Regions from separate parts of the Homo sapiens genome. Here regions 1, 2, 3, 4, 6 and 7 are each linked to region 5. The links are contacts of gene promoters, found by promoter capture Hi-C in human tissues and cell types (Jung and others, 2019). All regions are on one chromosome and are shown on one strand. The core of a region is centred on a gene start or on the middle of the fragment in contact, and the rest is flanking DNA. Distances in the headings are between cores, read along the strand shown. Region 1 overlaps LOC101928519 (a long non-coding RNA gene). Region 2 overlaps LOC105374958 (a long non-coding RNA gene). Region 3 has its middle 400 kb from the start of TRQ-CTG1-1. Region 4 overlaps LOC105374958 (a long non-coding RNA gene). Region 5 holds the start of ID4 (inhibitor of DNA binding 4). Region 6 has its middle 440 kb from the start of TRQ-CTG1-1. Region 7 overlaps LOC101928519 (a long non-coding RNA gene).

Region 1 (2,775 bases), core at 48-2,547, 670 kb before region 5:
CAAGAACAAGGTACTCAATTTCATGTTCAGAAATCCAAAGAGCCCGAGGAACACATTTCACAGACTTCTACCAGCAAAGGAAGCTTGCATATTTACTCTGCGATTTGGCAATTTGAGTTTATTTCTGTCACAGTAAGATGTTACAGGAGGAGGAGCAAACTACTAGTGGGTTCTCCTTTTGAATCTGGAATGAATTTACTGATGGTTCATCATCTTGGCCCTGAAAAATACTGTTGTAACAATGAAACTATATGTTTTTAAAGTATTTTTAATGGAAATAACATAGATAACCATAAGAATATTTTTAAAAATTAATTTTCATTTTTCTTGCATACCTTTGCATTTACTTTTTATATTCCTAGTAGTGGCAGGAGTATTAATAAAGCAATGATGATTTTTGTCATTATTACTCATTATAGAATCGTTATAGAACCTGGGAGTAAGTCACTTCTTTAACATTTGGGCTGGGATATATAGGGTAGGCGAGTGCCCTTTTTAGCCACAGGCCACCTCAAATCATTGATGAGTAAGAAGAAAGGGTGGTAGATGTGGTGAGTAGAAAACATAGTGGACAGAAGACAGAAAATAAAACATGGCAAGAAAAGGTCAAGGTCAAGTGGCAAAGGAGAAGCACAATTACTATTCTGAAATGTGAGTCAGGGTCATACTACTCTGCCCACCCTCCATCTCTGCCAGAATGAGGACTGTCCATTCCCTGGTAATGTGGGTTCTTGGCCCTCTACCTGCATTGATAAATTCACTATACTTTGCAACGACTATTTTTTTTAATCATGCCAAAATGCAATTCTAAATACGTAATCATAGATACCACTCCCCTCTCCTCAACAACAGGGTCTGGCATTTAAAGGATTTCCTGAACTCAAAGCTATGGCATCAAGCCATAAAACCCTCTGGGTTACTCTCAGCCTATTCTTGTTTGTTTGGCAACAAAATAAGGCAGAATCAAGAAGCTTAGGAAAACTTTTAAGGAGCTGCAGTCTGTGTGGGATGACCACTCACCACTCTCAATCCCTCCTCCCTGGCAACTTCTCATATTTTCTGTAAAGCAGTGATTTTTCAAAGTGAGGTTTCAGGCTACATAAATCAGAGTCAATTGTCTTGCCTAATAAATATACAGATTCCTGGGCTCTAACATCCTAGGCATGGTGTCTAGTTGCCGGCATTTTTGACAAGCATTTCAATTAGGTCTAAAGGAAGAACAGAGTTAGAGGCTAATATGTAAAACAGTGAGCTTCTCTTGATCGTCAGCTGGATCCAAAAACAAGGTACTCAATTTCATGTTCAATGTGAATTAAAGCTTTCTGTAAGTCCTCCTTCCACCCAACTACCTGCCCCAATTTTGCTCTTTGGTGACTGTCAACTGAGCTTTGCAAGGGTATTAAAAATAACCACCATATTCACAGATACTATTTAAAGAAGTAACTCCTCTCAAGGATGTTTGCATTTTTAAGGAGTCTCCAAGAAGTTATAATCTCTTTCTTGATGAGAAGAGAAAAGTGATAATATTAAAGGAAGCTACCTTGTCAATTTGTGTTATGCACAAATGCTCAAATAAGATAATAATCACAACCAACATTAACAACATTATTGCTAATTCCTATCACAAACCATAAGAGAAGTAATATCTCCTTTTCACTCAAGAAATCACTGAGGGTTCTTGTGATAAAATGCTTTGTTCCAAGGCCATACATTTAGTAGATACCTAAGTCAGCCTCATATTAGGTTGTTTGGGCTACATAATTCTGGCTCTTTCTATTAGACTGTAATTCATTCTGAAAAAAAAAAATAATAATAGCTTTTCACAGACAAAATACACGTTAGACACCAGCCTTAGAGAGTTCTGGTGACATCCATTCGGCTAAAGTTGTTGGAACTCTCATTATTTTTATGGACGATTAAAGCATTTTACATGTTTCCAGACATTTCTTTAATAAGGTTTAGCACTACTGGGTTGAAAATATGCCATTTTCATTACTGCCCTGAGATTCTCCCTGTGCCCAACTCTTTTTATTTCTGCTACTTTAGTTTCATTTCTATCACCTTTCAAAAAGCAGCGTGTCTCAAATTATTTATATTTGAGGTTATTTACATTATTTTGAACTAACTCCTAAGAAAGGTTATAGATTTTTAGAGAAGTGTAGGAAGTGTGGGAATTTATTTGTGTAATTCTTGCTTGTTGACTGGGGAATGAATTCCCAGGGTTTATCAACCTGTTCTGTCAGTTTGACATTTAGTTTAAAGTATTTGCCACTCAGATTCTCAAGGTACACAATCTCCTTCCTATGTTCATCTCTTGGATATTTTTGGAGAGGATCTTCTAGGTGTGAATTCTAGATGCATTTTCCCAACTATTTTAGTTTTTTTTTAAATTTTTTTCTAGCAAGAACACAATTCTAAAAGTCAAACTTCCAACATGTGTTTTGGAAACTTAGGTAGCAATTTATTAAAACCAAACATTAGTTTTACTCAAAGACATGACTCGAAGGCTTTGGAATTATTCTGAACTTGTAGGTACTCTCGAAGAAGCTACATGGAGAGAGGCCATCATTCATTTGCTCTGAATAAGAGAAATCAATGGTGAATATAAAGCACATATGATGATCTGCCTTGGTGCATTCATTGCATTTGATGATCCTGGGTGTACTTGTTTCGGAGGCATTGCTCTTTACTCTCTGTTCTTCTGTGTTATCAGAGGAAGAGCAGGTACCAAGGATTTTCCTTTCTATCAGCCACACTTTGGCTGTGTTTGGTCAA
Region 2 (2,876 bases), core at 329-2,828, 810 kb before region 5:
AAAGAGAGAATAAGAGTGGACCAAATGGGCACCTGTATCCTAGACAGGATGTAGAAGTCATATAATTTTGCTTCGTGTTTAGTGAGAATTTTTCTTCCCTTTCCTTCCTTTTCCCTTCCATTTCCTTTCCTTTCCTTTCTTGAAACTTGTATTAACAGCAAACTCATATCGATGCAGCATCAACAGATGAAGCCAAATTTTGCACAAACATCGTAAGATTTCTAACTAACCACTTTAGGATATGTGTGACTTGTGTCCAGTGGCTTATTAGTGTGAACAAAATCACGGAATCAAACGAGCCTGACGACAACTGCATGGAGTGAGAGATTGGGTCTGGGCCACATGGCATACTCCTATTAGTTTTATATTATCAGTTAATAATAATCGTGTGTTACTGTCTCAACAACCCTGTCATGTAGACAAGAAAACGAATGCTGGGGATATTATGTACTTGATTTCAGGTTGTACTAGTGGTAAATCTTGGGCTCTTGCTGCCAAGATTTGAGCCTTTTTCTTAGACTGATTATTTTCAAATGCCTTTTATCTCCATAATTTTATTTTTAAGGAAACTAAAACGGAGAAGTGTAATGCAAAAAACAGACAAAATGGGGCTACTCTGAGTGAGGCTGCATGAGAAGAATATACCAAGGGCTCTTTGTCCCTCCCCTTCACCCTCTCCTTCTTGGTTTCCAGAGCCAGTCTCTCAGGTGAACCTTCCCTGAGCCTGTGTTCTTCTCAGATGGCAGAGTTTGCAGCAAGAGCTCCCATGTAGTAGTTTACTTTTGGATAAGTGGTTTACTTTTGGACTGGGAAGAGAAGAAGAGTTATATAGCTGGCCATCCCTGTGGGCAACTGGAATTCATTCCTGCTAGGACCCTCTGGGGGAATTATACAGAATAAGTTTCAGAAAATTGTCCTGAGGAATGGCAACTTGGGAATGTTTACCTACTGGCTCCTGCCTCCATTGGTCAAGCAATCCCCCTGGGAGTTTTAGCCCTCCTCACATTTCCAGTTTTGCCCCTGTGTGAGCACAGAGTAGGTTCCTGCAGGCGTCGCACGCAGCAGCCCGCATGGGAGGTGACGCACTCGGAACAGAAGGTGAGAGATGCATGGTGCCAATGAGGAGAGGAGCTCTCAGTCTCAACTTCCCCAAAGCTGGTTTGTCCAGGAATGTTGCTGGAGCAAATGGCAGTTTGAGAGATGGAAGGAGGGGTGCAAGCACTGAATACAAACCCTGGGTTAGGCTTTCTGAAACCTGTTTCACAGTGGCCCACTGCCTACATTAGAATCAACTGGCATGCTCCTAAACTGTAAACTCCTGGGCCATGCCCCAGAACTGCTGCATTGGAATCACCTCAGCTGTGATTCTGGAATCTTCATGTTACATGAACATTGTTAGGTGAGTTATGCACAGTAAAGTTTAAGAACAGCTATTGAACATTTGGATTTGGATTCAGCTGTGACCAGTTTTTGCTGGCTTAAACATCCTGACTCAGGGATACCTCTTTTATAAAGGGCTGATACCATTTCTTATCAGGCGAAGCAGTTGCTAATATTAAGTACGGTGAAACAGGAAGGTGATGGAACAATTATTGTGTAAATGGAGATACACACCCCACATGCTTGTATTCTCCTCGGGGATCTTCTCTATTCCCCTTTTCTCATACCTGCTTCAACTTCGAGCCTTTTGGGTTTTATTGAAATACTCTTGACATTTATGCTTGGACACTTGAAAAGTTTTTTCTCTTTACACTATTAAGCATTTTGTTGATTGACTTTGGCCTTTGTGCTTTCTCCAAATCTGTTCTTTTCCTTACCTTTCTCACTCTTCAGGGTATTTCCGGTCTAAATATTGGCCAAATAATTCTCTACGCTATAATTTATAAAATATTTCCTCTTGGGTCAGGAAAATAAGAGGTTTTATTGCAGTTCAGTTCCAAAAGTAGTAGACAGAGACTGGGTGTTTAAACAGGGCCTGAAGCAAGGTTTTGCCAACCTTTCAGAGGCTGCATAACAAATATTTTTTATTTGCTCCGTCAGGTGTTGGAGTTAGCTATAGCCTCCTGAAGGTCATCTCTGAGCCTTCACTCCCTGTTACTCACACCAACCTTTATGAGTCCCCTATGAAAATAAAATCACCCTAGGAGGGATCATACTAAGCTATAATCAGTTAATACCTTGCTTTTCAATTAACACTCTAGCAGGGATTATTTGAAAGTCGTCTGAGAACAGAAATAGAGGTAGGCTGGCACTTGGAAAGCCTGGTTAGAATAAGAAGAAAGAAAGAAAAAGACAGGAAATCTTTACAATTTTGTTTAAAACTGGTAGGTGGCCCAGGCACTCCAAATCACTTGGGCTGTCTCAGTTTTCCAACCTGTGGTTTAAAGGCACGTGATTGTGAAAATTTGGCTTTTAAGGAGAATCAGGGTCTTCTTGAAGAAACAAACAAATCCAGCAGATCATCCACCTACTCCCTGTTGTTACATATGGTATTATGCCCCTACCAGTGTATGACTACAGTGTATAGAAAGAGAGAGACAGAGACAGAGAGAGAAATGTCTTAACAATCCCCATGCTATCCTTTATTTGCTTTGTGTTCTTTGTGTTTATTGCCAACATAACTTAAAGGTAAGGGGTGCTTAAGTCAACAATATTGATGTGATGGTTGCTACTCTAGTGAGCTACTGGGACAGACCTCATGAGATAAATTACACTCATGAGATACATTCATGTTAGGATTAGGATTTTGAGCCTAGTCCTAACATAAAAAGAGCAGCATCTCCTCTCCAAAAGGACAAAAGCAAGTTGGTTGCTGTAATTTCAGGTAGTTCCTTGTGTGGTTATATTGTACAATCTACCTCTCCACATCTGCCTGA
Region 3 (2,866 bases), core at 21-2,520, 610 kb before region 5:
GTATACCACATTTTCTTTATCCATTTATCTGTTCGTGTACATTTAGGTTGTTTCCACATCTTGACTGTTGTGCATAATGATGCGATCAACGAGCATGTGAATGCAGATATTTCTTAAAGATTCTAATTTTATTTTCTTTGAGTAAATACCCAGAAGTGGAATTGCTGGATCATATGGTAGTTATACTTTTCATTTGAGAATGCTGCATCCTGTTTTTCTTAATGGCTGTACCAATTTACATTCCCACCAACACTGTGCAAAGACTCCTTTTTCTCCACATAGTCGCTAACACTTGTTATCTTTTGGTTTCTTTGATAATAGGCATCCTAATAGATGTAACATGATATTGATTTGCATTTTCCTGATGGTTGTACTTCTAAAATCTTCTTTCAAAATAATGATTCTTTTTACATACTTTTGAATTTCATTTGCTAAAAATTTTAGAATGTTTTTGTTATTATTGATAACAGATTAATCTATATAGTTTTTTTTGTGTGCACATCTTTATCAGGTTTCATTACCAATTTTATACCCCCTTTCCAAAATGAATTGAGATTTTCTTTTGTCTAGTCTTTTCCAGAACAATTTAAATAGCATTGGTATTATTTGCTTTTAAAATATTTGAATTCCTTTATGAAACTGTCCAAATCTGCCACTTTGCTGGGAATAACCTTTGCATAATTTTGTCTATTGCCTTTATTGAAGTAGTTCTGTTTAGATTTTCTGTCATTTGTGTTGTCATTTTGTGTAAATCATATTTTTTTCATCCAAGCTTTTCAATTTAGAATTCTTATGAATCTTTAATTTCTTCTATTCCTATGTGGTCATTTCCTTTTTACTATCTGGTTGTGTGTTTCATTGCTTGTTTGTTTTTAATTGCAGTTTTTTTCTTTTTCTTGATTAAGTTAGATAATATTTTACTATTTTTTTCAAAGAAACATCTTTTGTTTTTATATACCAAATCCATCATTTTTCTAATTACTAGAATTAGAAAATACAGGCCATAGGGTCTCTGTCACAACTGTGCCATTATAACATGAAAGTAGCTGTAGATCATTTGCAGATGAGCGAGTATGACTGCATTCCAGAAAAACTTTATTGTAGATTCTGCATCCTAAATTTTATACAATTTTCACGTGTTGAACTATTATCCTCTGATTTTTTTCAACAATTAAAAAATGCGAAAACCATATTTTGTAGGTCATATGAAAACAGGCATTGAATGAGATTTGGCATAAGCTGTGGTTTGCTGGTCTCTATTTCATCTGCTGTATCTTTAGACATTCATTTCTTTATATGGTATCTATTGGTTCCTTAATGTGAATAGTAAAAACTTTCCTGTATTTTCTTCCTGTACCCTTCTTTCTTCAATGTTATTCTGTCAACATTTTCTTTCTTTTACTTCATACTGTTAAATAAGAATGTACTTCCATTGTGTGAGTTATGAACATTTATTGACAAGCTTTGACCCTAAGTGATCATAGATAATGCAACTTATAAATGTATCCACCTTCTTTTCAATATTTTTCTTCAACTTTTTTGGTGTATAATATTTATATAGTCAGAATATACAACAATTTATTTGCCACATTCTACTCTCCAGAGTCTATGCCAACTCCCCAGAACCAAGCCAGCTCCCAGAGGCATTCTGGACCCAGGGTTCTTGGCACAAAATTTCCAAAAGACAGAGGGTCCCTTTGAGCCATGTCCTGGAACCTGAAACCAAGCCAAAATAGCTTTGAGAGAGAGAGCGTGCGTGGCAAAGCAGCTTCAGAACATTTTGTGTCATATATTTGCTGCTAGCCTCTTTGCTTTATAATCTTTTAAACTTTATTTTTTCCTCCTGAATGTTTTAGTCTGTTATTGTTAGTCATTTCAAAGAGGCTCCTATTAAAGCTTTTGTGAGGCTAGACTCTCATTCCTCTCCATGGCTTCCCGCTCAGCACTCTGCCTCTGCTCTCTCTAGCTCTGTTTACTTATAAGCTTGCTTTTGGCAGTCAGTTAAGTTTATTTTACATTTTACTGAAGTGTGAGGGGAAATACTGATAGAAAAACTAAACAAAATTCCTCACAAAATGGTATCACCCGAATGAGCAAAGTACCTGAAAGAGTCAAACATCCGGGTGCCCAGAACTTAAAGCCTGATTTTTCTTCCCTATAAGGCACCCTTAGCCTTTCTTCCTGCTCTGGCTGGTGATAAGATCATCTGAAAATTAATCAGTAGTGGAGAGGGGCCTGTATTCATTGTCAACCCACATTGCAAGTCTGGGTCTCTGCTTCCCCATGTTTCTTGTCTGTATTGCCATAAGCTTATCAGAATAGGGTGTACAAACTCCTTTGTTGCTGCTTTAAAGAAATGGAAATGCTAGATCTTCTATTAAGTTAAAGGGAAATTTTTCCTACTCCTGACCCAGCTATCAATGATTATTGTAAAATAACATCAAAGAATTTATCCCTTAATATAGTCATGTGTCTCACCATAAGATGTATGTTTTCAAAGAAAAATTACAGTAGCCATATATAAAACTAAAGGTACATAAAATGATAGTGAACACATAAGTTTACATGATTTTTCATGGCAATTCTAGTAGAGTTGACATTAAGCAGACAAGAATGTGGAGATATATATGATTATATAAAGAGATACACACACATATGTCTTTCTTTAAATATTTCAATAGCTGATATACATTCTTATAATCTTTTTGGAGTAATGTGGCAATTTAACACAAAGGAAAAATATAATTTATAAGAGCAAATACAGTCATCTGAAAAGATTATTCCCAAAGGATATAAAAAGGGGCTGAATGTTATCTGTGAAACAGAGGAGGAAGAACAAGAACTTAGAAATATTGGTGAAAATAAA
Region 4 (2,803 bases), core at 205-2,704, 790 kb before region 5:
AGTGGCTCGTCACTCACTCTCCCTTGGTGGAAACACAGACCGTGATAACTCAGAACCTAAGCTTAAAAGATGTTTTCTGCTATGTTTCAGGGGAAAACAGGACCACAAAACCTACACCCAGCAAGACTGCAGTAGCATTTGGTTAGGGATACCTCTGCAGTGGTAAGCAGTACTAGATTTATGCCTCACCAGAGGTACTGCCACTGGTACCCACAGTGCCTGTAACACCCTTTCAGAGGCATGCAGTTGGGATGAAGGGGGCACATAAAATATGAAAGTAACCAATGAACTTCTCATTTTAGCAAACACCTCCCCACTTTCTAGCCTCCACATCCTTAGATATGGGGGACTTCCTTTTCCCAAGTCCATCGCTACAGGTTTTCAAATCATAGTTTACTGAATTATTTCAAAACTTACTGAATGAGAAGTTATTATCCACTTGGCTCTCTTGATTTCCAGAGTCAACTTAGAAGAGCAGATGTTCCGTTTCTTTCCCCAGGCGCTATCTATCCCAGATCGGGGGCTCTGGGAACTGACAGAGGTGTCGACAGATCTCCCACATACATCCTGATTCATGATAAAGGGAGCCTGACTGAAAAAGTTCTCACTCTCTCGTATCACACTACTGACTGTGACAAACATCAGTAGATCCTTTTTTTTTTTCTACTACCATGAATAAGAATATCATTTTACCATTTCTCTCAGAGCACAGAAGCAAATAGAAAGGAAGAATCCCATTATTTTCATTGCATAAAGCTATCTTGGGCTCTGTTCATCAGAGAGTTCAATTTTGCTGAATAATTCTCTATAGACACGAATGATAGAAGAGGGGATCATTACCCATCTGTTTGCCCTCTCGGCTTTTGTTCAGCCCTTATTGTCTTTTCAATCTGGATCCATCTGATTGCTTTAGTGACGCAGGAAGACATCACCAAATATGAGCACATTCCCAGGCCCAGGAGCCTCTCGCCACACTGAGGCAGAATGATACAGAGTATTTTGCCTTGGAGCATTTCAGCAAACTGGGGCTGGAATACGATGCTTAAGGTCAAAGCAATGGCATCTGTAGCTGGGAAAGGGCCAACGGAGATCATTTTTATCTTCTACTGTACACATGCAGTCTATTTATCACCAGGCATCAAGACCTTTACTGAACAGCCAGGAAAATCACAGAGAGCAGAGCTCTGGTCTCTGCTGTCAGAGGTGCTATTTGTATTATTTTGCCTTGTTTTTCCCTGGAACCTCATATAAAGCTTTTTCAGGCTTGGGCAAAGCTTTGCTTGGATTTTCGTGTCAAGAAGACAAATTTAAACTGGAGTTTGGAAAGGAAGGAGAGACTTTTGAGCAGTATTATTTCTGACTTCCAGTTTGTAGAATCCACAGGAAATTCTTTTTGGGAAATGGATATGGTTGCCAAATTGTATAAACTTAATTAGAAAATAAAATGATTGTTTTCTATCAAACCACATCCACTTAAGCCCCATGTGAAAAACCCATCTCTAATTCTCTTCTGACATTCTTTTTGATGTGAGCAGAATTACAGATTATTAAATAGAGACAGTTTAGAATCAAAACCTTTTCATTGCTGAAAATTGCCTTTCACTTATTTTGTAAAGTCCACCTGACTTTCTACGAGCCCTATTATAGAAAGGAAATTGTAGCTATACTTAAATCCTTTCAATTCACGCTCTTAGATCCAATAGGATGTAAAAGGTAAGAGAAACACTAACATCTTACAGGGCCTGGGTTCAATTCTACACTGAAAACACACACACACACACACACACAAAACACCCTATGTCCTTTACATCTCAGAACTTCATTTTCCTCACCAATAAAAATACAGTTGAACAAAATTGCTTCTAAAGTCCTCTCTTTTTCTGAAAGTGTCTTTTCCTTGATAGTATTTCCTTCGAGTAACATTTGCACTATGTATTTACTATTTCTCTATATTGATTTTGTGGCTACTCTATTAACTAGAAACATACTTACCTTTGTCTTCATGAGTGTAACAGGCCAAAATGGAGAAAGTGACATGACCTTCAACCTTTAAAAGCACGTTGTCCTAAACAATTTCTGGGCTGTGCTCCTAATGTACTTGTGATTATGCCTCTTGTTTCATTTAAGATTTGGCAATAAGAAATTTAGAAAGAAGATGCCTATTATGTTTTCATTCTCTCCCCTACCCATTTTCATTTAACAATGCACTGCTATGCTATCATGTACTTATTTTGTAATTTACTGTTAATTTTTGTGACACCATCATAATCAGCATTTCAAAGCATATTTGAAAGATGCATTGTTTCATGCCGTTTTTGTACAGTAAATTGCATTTTGATGTTATCCATTTTCAAGGTTGCTAAAGCACACTCATAACAGGTCATCATGATCCTAGATAAAAACAACCCAGAAGCACCAGATTACACATCCCAACTTAAAAAAATACAGGGATCTGATTTTGCTTTTCAGATTCAAAGAACTGGCTTCATCCTGTACTTCTTCAGTGCTTGAGGGAAAAATATAATAAGATATTAAGATATAGCTTCAAAATTCTGCTCCTCGAAAGTCCTGTGTAGTGTTCACTTACATTTCTGAGAAATAAAGAGAAGAGGTTAATAAGCCACATTTACTAAGTCTCTTCTATCATATATTCCAGATGCCGAATACTTTTGCTTCTAATCCCTAAGTGGGTAGTAGTATGCTTATACTGCAGATGAGAGCTAAATGTTTGCAAATATTTTAGAAATTGCTGTATGTTTCACAAAAAGAAAATACACATCTTTTCGAATTTGTTTTTTCTCTG
Region 5 (3,022 bases), core at 515-3,014:
CTGATTTTCTCGATTAATGTGTATGTAGACCATCTACGTATGCACATAAATAAATGAGAATGGCACTTGTTTCCAAACAATTATTAGAAGCAGTAACATACAAGGATTAGGGGAGAGGAGGGTTATTGCATCTACCTGTGAAACCAGAATTAAATAGTTGCTCCTCATTTCATCAGGAGAAAGGAATGTGCTCTGGGGAATAGTGCGATAGTCATAAAGCACTGACATAGCTAAACAAAATATCTGCCTGGTGCAGGTATTTCAGTTCTGGGAATGGATGTAGAAAAAGTCCATATAGGGGTAGACAGGAAGAAATGAGGTCCATGTCTCTTTCTTTCAATTATCTATGAAAATGAAGACACCAATCCATGTCATGTACACGAATGAAGAAAATTCTTGGGTTAATTCATCTCCAAGCGTGTCTAAAGGTGGGAGGGTTTGTAGAGTGAAGGCACTCAAAATTCATTTCCCCATTGTCTGAGAATTTTTATGCACCTTTCTCATCTGAAGGGCTCAATTTTTTCTTGAAGGGTACACACAATGCTCCACCAAAGCTCATTGTGCAATTTTATTTTGAACCCTTGAAGGACAGCTTTTCTCTAAGAAATCTAACACAAAAACGCCCTTAATTAACAGGCTTTTTTTTGCAGGGTGGGGCCCAAGCGGGATCCCAGAGACTGGAAGTGTGAATTTTAATGCTTTGCTGTCAAAGGAGGCGACTCTGGACATTCTCATCACCTTATTTAAAGCGGGGTACGCTGACTAATACGTGAAGCTGTGCATTAATGGCCTAAATTAAGTTACAGGTATGAATTTTACATAAAACAGATTAATATTATATGTCATAATGGAATTTTAAATATTCCGTGTCCATGCATTTTTAATCTTTACGTGCTCTAATTGAATGCGCAAGGCAACTGCATTTCTTGAGCCCACTTTTGCATTTAGATGGGGTAAAAGAACCCCCCCCACGTTTTTGTTTTATTTATATTCCCTTCACCAAAAACCTGCATTCGATTCGGCATTCTTTTCCTTCTTTTTTTTTCTACTTTTGCTAAGCTTTAGCATTTTTTAAAAAGAAAACGGAAAGGCTACACATTCCATTCCATCATTATGGTTTCGGCAAATGTGAAAAGGCGAATAATGAAACGGAGGAGGGAAATATAGAACAGAATGAACGTGCCTTCTTGAACAGCGCGTCTTTCTTAAGGCACTGGAATCCCACGGATGGAGTGATGGGTGGCGGAGGGTCCCTGGGCGCCGTGCTATTAGGAGTGGCAGGGTATCCGCGAGCAGGGCCCAGGCGCTCCCTCAGCAGCCTAGTCGGGATAAGGGGGGCGGTGGAGAGTGAATTCCGGCCGCACATTCCCGCAGTTCTTCGCAGGAACTTCGCTCTCTCTTTTCCCCTCCCTTGGGCACACATCAGCCTGGCCCGACTCCCACTCAGCTCTCTTTTCTCAGAACCCCGACCCACAGCGTTGACGGAATGGAGTGCCCTTCCCATTGGCCCGAGCGTCATTCCCCGAGGTGGCACTGCCCGCCTGATTGGCTGGCCACTCCAGACCCCCCGCCCACTCCTCCACTCGGGTAGCCGGACTCCCCGCCCCCCAGCACCGCCCGGAGCCCCCGCCCTCGCCTCTCCCTCCGCGCCCCCGCCCGCGCGCCCAGCGGGCTCCGCTCGGCTCGCGCTGCGACCCGGCCCGCGCGCTGGTCCCGCCCCCGGGGCGCACGGCTCTATAAATACAGCTGCGCGGCGGGCCGGGCGAGAGCGTAGTGGAGGAGGCGCGGTTGTGAGTAGTACCGGGAGTGGGGTGATCCCGGGCTAGGGGAGCGCGGCGGCCGCGATCGGGCTTAGTCGGAGCTCCGAAGGGAGTGACTAGGACACCCGGGTGGGCTACTTTTCTTCCGGTGCTTTTGCTTTTTTTTTCCTTTGGGCTCGGGCTGAGTGTCGCCCACTGAGCAAAGATTCCCTCGTAAAACCCAGAGCGACCCTCCCGTCAATTGTTGGGCTCGGGAGTGTCGCGGTGCCCCGAGCGCGCCGGGCGCGGAGGCAAAGGGAGCGGAGCCGGCCGCGGACGGGGCCCGGAGCTTGCCTGCCTCCCTCGCTCGCCCCAGCGGGTTCGCTCGCGTAGAGCGCAGGGCGCGCGCGATGAAGGCGGTGAGCCCGGTGCGCCCCTCGGGCCGCAAGGCGCCGTCGGGCTGCGGCGGCGGGGAGCTGGCGCTGCGCTGCCTGGCCGAGCACGGCCACAGCCTGGGTGGCTCCGCAGCCGCGGCGGCGGCGGCGGCGGCAGCGCGCTGTAAGGCGGCCGAGGCGGCGGCCGACGAGCCGGCGCTGTGCCTGCAGTGCGATATGAACGACTGCTATAGCCGCCTGCGGAGGCTGGTGCCCACCATCCCGCCCAACAAGAAAGTCAGCAAAGTGGAGATCCTGCAGCACGTTATCGACTACATCCTGGACCTGCAGCTGGCGCTGGAGACGCACCCGGCCCTGCTGAGGCAGCCACCACCGCCCGCGCCGCCACACCACCCGGCCGGGACCTGTCCAGCCGCGCCGCCGCGGACCCCGCTCACTGCGCTCAACACCGACCCGGTGAGAGGCCGGGCGCCGGCCGTGGGCGGACGCCGCGGGGGATGGGAGGTTGGTGGCGTGGTGGCGGGACGCGGGCGCTCACCGTCCTCCGGGCAGGGGCGGGCCAGGAATGACAGCCCCCTCCCCCTGCTCCTCCGGGCTCCCCCGGGCCGCCAGCAGCCGGCCGGGCTCGGCGAGCGCGGGTCCGGGAGAACGCGCAGGGCGGGACTCGGGGCTGTGGGCGCCCTGGGCTGTCAAGTCCCGCCTGAGCCCGGAGGGGCCCCCCCGGCTACAGGCTGGGGTGGGGGCGTCGGCGCGCCAGCCTGATTTCCGAGGACAATCCAGGACCGTGTCGAGCGCGTTGTTTGCGCCTGCTAACCTTTCCCTTGGTGTTCGGTTGCTGTTCCAGGCCGGCGCGGTGAACAAGCAGGGCGACAGCATTCTGTGCCGCTG
Region 6 (2,962 bases), core at 19-2,518, 560 kb before region 5:
CTGATGGGGAAAAATGGCCACCTGAGGGAAGTGTACATTACAATACTATCCTGCAGCTTGACTTTTTTTGTAAGAGGGAAGGCAAATGGAATGAAATACCTTATGTCCAAGCTTTCTTTTCATTGAAGGAGAATACACAACTACATTTTACATCTCACAGGAGGACCTCTCAGCTTACCCCCATATCCTAGCCTCCCTATAGCTCCCCTTCCTATTAATGATAATCCTCCTCTAATCTCCCCTGCCCAGAAGGAAATAAGCAAAGAAATCTCCAAAGGACCACAAAATCCCCCAGGCTATCGGTTATGTCCCCTTCAAGCTGTAGGGGCAGGGGAATTTGGCCCAACATGGGTACATGTCCCATTCTCCCTCTCTGATTTAAAGCAGATCAAGGCAGACCTGGGGAAGTTTTCAGATGATCCTGATAGGTACATAGATGTCCTACAGGGTCTAGGGCAAACCTTTAATCTTACTTGGAGAGATGTCATGCTATTGTTACATCAAACCTTGGCCTTTAATGAAAAGAATGCAGCTTTAGCTGCAGCCCAAGAGTTTGGAGATACCTGGTATCTTAGTCAACTAAATGATAGAATGACAGCCAAAGAAAGGGACAAATTCCCTACCAGTCAGCAAGCCATCCCCAATATGGATCCCCACTGTGATCTTGACTCAGATCATGGGGACTGGAGTTGTAAACATCTGTTGACCTGTGTTCTAGAAGGACTAAGAAGAATTAGGAAAAAGCCCATGAATTATTCAATGATGTCCACCATAACTCAGGGAAAGGAAGAAAATCCTTCTGCCTTCCTCGAGCAGCTATGGGAGGCCTTAAGAAAATATACTCCCCTGTCATCCAAATCACTCAAGGGTCAATTGATTCTAAAAGATAAGTTTATTACTCAATCAGCTGCAGATATCAGGAGAGAGCTCCAAAAGCAAGCCCTAGGCCCTGAACAAAATTTGGAAACATTATTAAACCTGGCAACCTCGGTGTTCTATAGTAGGGACCAAAAGGAATAGGCCCAATAGGAAAAGGGAGACCAGAGAAAGGCCACAGCCTTAGTCATGGCCCTCAGACAAACAAACCCTGGAGGTTCAGAGAGGACAGAAAATGGAACAGGCCAATCACCCAGTAGGGCTTGTTACCAGTGTGGTTTGCAAGGACACTTTAAAAAAGATTGTCCAACGAGAAACAAGCCACCCCCTCATCCATGTCTGCTATGCCAAGGCAATCACTGAAAGGTGCGCTGCCCCAGAGGACAAAGGTTCTCTGGGTAGAAGCCCCCAACCACATGATCCAACAACAGGACTGAGGGTGCCCAGGGTTAGTGCCAGCTCACGTCATCACCCTCAGTGAGCCCCGGGTACATTTAACCATTGAGGGCCAGGAAATTGACTTCCTCCTGGACACTGGCATGGCCTTCTCAGTGTTAATCTCCTTTCCTGGACGACTGTCCTCAAGGTCCGTTACCATCCAAGGAATCCTGGGAGAGCCTGTAACCAGGTATTTCTCCCACCTCCTCAGTTGTAATTGGGAGACTTTGCTCTTTTCACATGCCTTTCTTGTCATGCCTGAAAGTCCCACACCCTTATTAGGGAGGGATATATTAGCCAAAGCTGGAGCTATTATCTACATGAATATGGGGAACAAGTTACTCATTTGTTGTCCCCTACTTGAGGGGTGAATCAACCGTGAAATCTGGGCATTGGAGGGACAATTTGGAAGGGCAAAAAAAATGCCTGCCCAGCCCAAATCAGGCTAAAAGATCCCACCACTTTTCCTTATCAAAGGCAATATCCCTTAAGGCCTGAAGCTCATAAAGGATTACAGGATATTGTTAAACATTTAAAAGCTCAAGGCTTAGTAAAGAAATGCAGCAGTCCCTGCAACACCCCAATTCTAGGAGTACAAAAACCGAATGGTCAGTGAAGACTAGTGCAAGATCTTAGACTCATCAATGAGGCAATAATTCCTCTATATCCAGTTGTACCCAACCCCTATACCCTGCTCTCTCAAATACCAGAGGAAGCAGAATGGTTCACTGTTCTGGACCTCAAGGATGCCTTCTTCTGTATTCCCCTGCACTCTGACTCCCAGTTCCTCTTTGCCTTTGAGGAGCCCACAGACCACATGTCCCAACTTATGTGGATGGTCTTGCCCCAAGGGTTTAGGGCTAGCCCTCACCTGTTTGGTCAGGTACTAGCCCAAGATCTAGGCCACTTCTCAAGTCCAGGCACTCTGGTCCTTCAGTATGTGGATGATTTACTTTTGGCTACCAGTTTGGTAGCCTTGTGCCAGCAGGCTACTCTAGATCTCTTGAGCTTTCTAGCTAATCAAGGGTACAAGGTGTCTAGGTCGAAGGCCCAGCTTTGCCTACAGCAGGTCAAATATCTAAGCCTAATCTTAGCCGGAGGGACTAGGGCCCTCAGCAAGAAATGAATACAGCCTATACTGGCTTACCCTCGCCCGAAGACATTAAAACAGTTGCAGGGGTTCCTTGGAATCACTGGCTTTTGCCGACTATGGATCCCTGGATACAGCGAGATAGCCAGGCCCCTCTATACTCTAATCAAGGAGACCCAGAGGGCAAATACTCATCTAGTAGAATGGGAACCAGGGTCAGAAACAGCCTTCAAAACCGTAAAGCAGGTCCTAGTACAAGCTCCAGCTTTAAGCCTTCCCACAGGACAAAACTTCTCTCTATATGTCACAGAGAGAGCAGGGATAGCTCTTGGAGTCCTTACTCAGACTCGTGGGACAGCCCCACAAACAGCGGCATACCTAAGTAAGGAAACTGATGTAGTAGCAAAAGGCTGGCCTCACTGTTTAAGGGTAGTTGTGGCAGTGGCTGTCTTAGTGTCAGAGGCTATCAAGATAATACAAGGAAAGGATCTCACTGTCTGGACTACTCATGATGTAAATGGCGTACTAGGTGCCAAAGGAAGTTTATGGTTATCAGAC
Region 7 (2,736 bases), core at 205-2,704, 690 kb before region 5:
CTTGAAAGAAAATGGAGTTTATTTTATAAATATTAACTGGATGGATAGATGCATGATGTACCAGCTGTGTCTATGGACCCCTCTCCCACACTGACCTGCTTCTCTTCTTGTTTCAGTTGTCTTAATGGTCCTCCCCTTCCACTCATTCATTAAGAGTACTCACTTGAGCTAAGCATCATCTTTGAGCATTTCCTCTTCTTCTGTATAATATATGTGAAAATCATGAGACATAGCTAGTCCTTGGAGAGAAAGAAAATGCATGACTACATGCCATTTGGGTAGGTTGTTACCAGGCTATTGTGAGTAAAATATCTGTCAAATTGGTATTTTTAATTGAAAAAAAGAGTTATGTTTTCTTTTAGCTTTCTGGTTTTCAATGTAAGACTTGGGTGAAATGAGCTCTACTCATATCACCTGGCAATGGCAATGTGCATACTATATTTTAGGAAATTGTCAAAAACTTTAAAAGGATTCTCACAGCTCAGCTCTATTTAAAATTCAAGAGGGAAAAAAATTTTTTTTAAAGTCAAGAGGGCTTCAGATGTCCTCCAAGCCCTGGTCTTCCTCACGCTAAAGCTTCCAGAGCCAAACATTGGAGACCCCATTTTTAGCAGAGAACCCACAGCCTCACATTATGTGGGGACTCAAGGTACCATATTTTAGCCACTAAATTTATTTCTGGACTCTTGTTAGTGACTACATGAATTCTTTAGGGCCCCATGGCAAGGCGATCTCCAGGGATTTTAACACATTCTGAATTTGGGTTGCAAAGGAGTCTGGAGACTGTTGCTTTCAGCTGGAGCCCAGAAGAACTGACAATGAAAACTGCAATAAAAGCTCCTGGTGACCTCCTGAGGCAATACTGCTACTTTTGAAAATAAACGTATTTACCTAACAATCACTTAGAAGGAAATTTTAAGATATATGATTAAAGTGTATTAAGCTACAGATATAAAAATCTAATCTTCAAAAGGAAGCACAGTATTGTGGTGTAAGAATTGGATCACAAATAAGAGATCTCTTTTATAGCCCTGGTTTCACCCCCAACTAGTTATATGAACTTGGACAAGTAATTGAACTTCTTTGGGTTTCAGCTTCTAGTCTATATATAACATGTGACCTGAACCATAACTTTCTATTTATCTTTGAATTCTCTGGCTTTCTCAATCCATATAATCCTTTGCTTTCCTATTCTGATAAACCAGCCACACACTTGTAGCTTTGCCTTTTGTGAACATGAATTCCTAATAATTAAACTGAATAATGTCCCCTCAAAGTCTTACTTAAAACATATACTTCAGCTTGCCTGTACGAAGCTACCTGTCTTCTCTCTCTCTCTCTCATCAGCCCTCATGAGATCCTGCTTTAATTTATGTGAGTAGCTTGCAAGACTGAACTAAGAAAGGGCTGTTTCTAATATAGTAAATCAAAATAACATCACATTCACTTGAAACAATGTTTTTGAAATTCAAGTTCAAAACAGGTAATTCAGACTTCACAAATACTTTGGCTTCACACTTGCTTTCCTTCTCTACTATGTCTTCAGTGACATTGTGCAAAAGGGCAATTCCATTTCCATAGGTTACATTGACTTTGCAGAGCTGAAGAATCAAAAAAAAAAAAAAAAAAAAAAAAAAAGAATGAAAAGAAAAGGAAAAAAAAAAAACACCAAGAAGGCTTGGTTTGGGCCTAGGAACTAAATAAGCACAAGATAAAAATCACAGTGGAAGTGAGTGTCATTGAAATAAAGTGACTTGTTTTTATCGCAAGGCTATTTTCAGTTAAGTCCACTCTAATTCTTATCTTTATTCAACCTACAAGTTATAGATAATGCATGACTATATTAAAATTCTCTTCTTGGCCTGAATCTCCTATCTCCAGTGGACAAGCTGGGTCCTTGACAACTTGATTGTATGTGTGTTGATTTTTAAAAGACAACATGAAATCTTTAAAGTTGGAATTTCCTGATTATTTTAGACCAGGTTCTACATACTGCACTGATACTACAGAGCAATTTTAGAGAGCAATCGTAATTGCATTAAGTGACTTCACATGATTAGTAGAAGCAGAAGGAATAGGTGATCTGGATTGTTTTTGAGAAAGCTGTTAATGAAATATAATATGCATGTAGAAAAGTGTAAAAATCTTAAGTGCTCAGTTTGATGTATTTGAACAAAGCAAACACACCCCTTTAACTATCAGACTAAGAAATGGAACATTAGCACCCAAGAAGCCCCATGCCCTGCCCAGTCACAATTCCCCAAAAAGTAATCACTGTCATGACTTCTAACAACATGGTTTAGTTTAGCCAGTATTCGAAATTTACATATATCGAATTATATAGTGTGTACTCTTCTATGTCTGGTTTCTTTCACTCAGTAGTGTGTGCAGCAATTATTCATGTCATTCATGTGATAGCAGTTCTCATTGCTGTGTAGTATCTTATTGCAGGTATCAACAATATATTAAATATCTATTAATATTTGTGCTCTTACAAATAGTATTTTGGGAACACATGCATATGCATTTCTGTTGAGCACAAACATTTAGGTAATAAACTATGCATACTATATATATTAATGGAGACTGCCAAACTTTTTCAAACAGCTGTACCAATTTTCACACCCATTAGAAGTGGGTGAGGCTTCTAGTTTCCCTACACGCTTACAATCTGTTGATATTGTCAGTCTTTGTTATTGTAGCCAATTTGGTTGTATCGTAGGAGTTTTATATTTT

The links. The method cuts DNA at HindIII sites, captures the fragments that hold promoters and counts their contacts. A contact is called where the count stands out against the background at its distance.
Region 1: a fragment that was not itself captured here is called in contact with the fragment with the promoter of ID4 in region 5 in 1 of the 25 tissues and cell types used here (mesenchymal stem cells).
Region 2: a fragment that was not itself captured here is called in contact with the fragment with the promoter of ID4 in region 5 in 2 of the 25 tissues and cell types used here (H1 embryonic stem cells and mesendoderm cells).
Region 3: a fragment that was not itself captured here is called in contact with the fragment with the promoter of ID4 in region 5 in 3 of the 25 tissues and cell types used here (H1 embryonic stem cells, hippocampus and mesenchymal stem cells).
Region 4: a contact is called between a fragment that was not itself captured here and the fragment with the promoter of ID4 in region 5, in 4 of the 25 tissues and cell types used here (dorsolateral prefrontal cortex, hippocampus, mesendoderm cells and 1 more).
Region 6: a fragment that was not itself captured here is called in contact with the fragment with the promoter of ID4 in region 5 in 3 of the 25 tissues and cell types used here (aorta, heart right ventricle and thymus).
Region 7: a fragment that was not itself captured here is called in contact with the fragment with the promoter of ID4 in region 5 in 1 of the 25 tissues and cell types used here (heart right ventricle).

Annotation. Positions count from the first base shown.
Region 1 is chr6:19,166,548-19,169,322 of GRCh38, forward strand. The region is part of intron 3 of LOC101928519 (a long non-coding RNA gene); the gene reads right to left. Among named protein-coding and RNA genes, the nearest start is that of TRQ-CTG1-1, 330 kb to the left of the region's middle. The HindIII fragment of the contact is 3,647 bases long and covers 1-2,775 here.
Region 2 is chr6:19,020,818-19,023,693 of GRCh38, forward strand. All of the region lies in intron 2 of LOC105374958 (a long non-coding RNA gene), which reads left to right. Among named protein-coding and RNA genes, the nearest start is that of TRQ-CTG1-1, 190 kb to the left of the region's middle. The HindIII fragment of the contact is 7,195 bases long and covers 1-2,876 here.
Region 3 is chr6:19,230,370-19,233,235 of GRCh38, forward strand. No RefSeq gene overlaps it. Among named protein-coding and RNA genes, the nearest start is that of TRQ-CTG1-1, 400 kb to the left of the region's middle. The HindIII fragment of the contact is 3,750 bases long and covers 1-2,866 here.
Region 4 is chr6:19,041,575-19,044,377 of GRCh38, forward strand. All of the region lies in intron 3 of LOC105374958 (a long non-coding RNA gene), which reads left to right. Among named protein-coding and RNA genes, the nearest start is that of TRQ-CTG1-1, 210 kb to the left of the region's middle. The HindIII fragment of the contact is 4,276 bases long and covers 1-2,803 here.
Region 5 is chr6:19,835,606-19,838,627 of GRCh38, forward strand. It overlaps ID4 (inhibitor of DNA binding 4), which reads left to right and starts at 1,765. Exons shown (of 3, transcript NM_001546.4): 1 at 1,765-2,590; 2 at 2,979-3,022. The coding sequence starts at 2,150. The HindIII fragment of the contact is 7,095 bases long and covers 1-3,022 here.
Region 6 is chr6:19,273,095-19,276,056 of GRCh38, forward strand. No RefSeq gene overlaps it. Among named protein-coding and RNA genes, the nearest start is that of TRQ-CTG1-1, 440 kb to the left of the region's middle. The HindIII fragment of the contact is 7,231 bases long and covers 1-2,962 here.
Region 7 is chr6:19,145,448-19,148,183 of GRCh38, forward strand. LOC101928519 (a long non-coding RNA gene) reads right to left here. Exons shown (of 11, transcript NR_110860.1): 5 at 164-239. Among named protein-coding and RNA genes, the nearest start is that of TRQ-CTG1-1, 310 kb to the left of the region's middle. The HindIII fragment of the contact is 7,624 bases long and covers 1-2,736 here.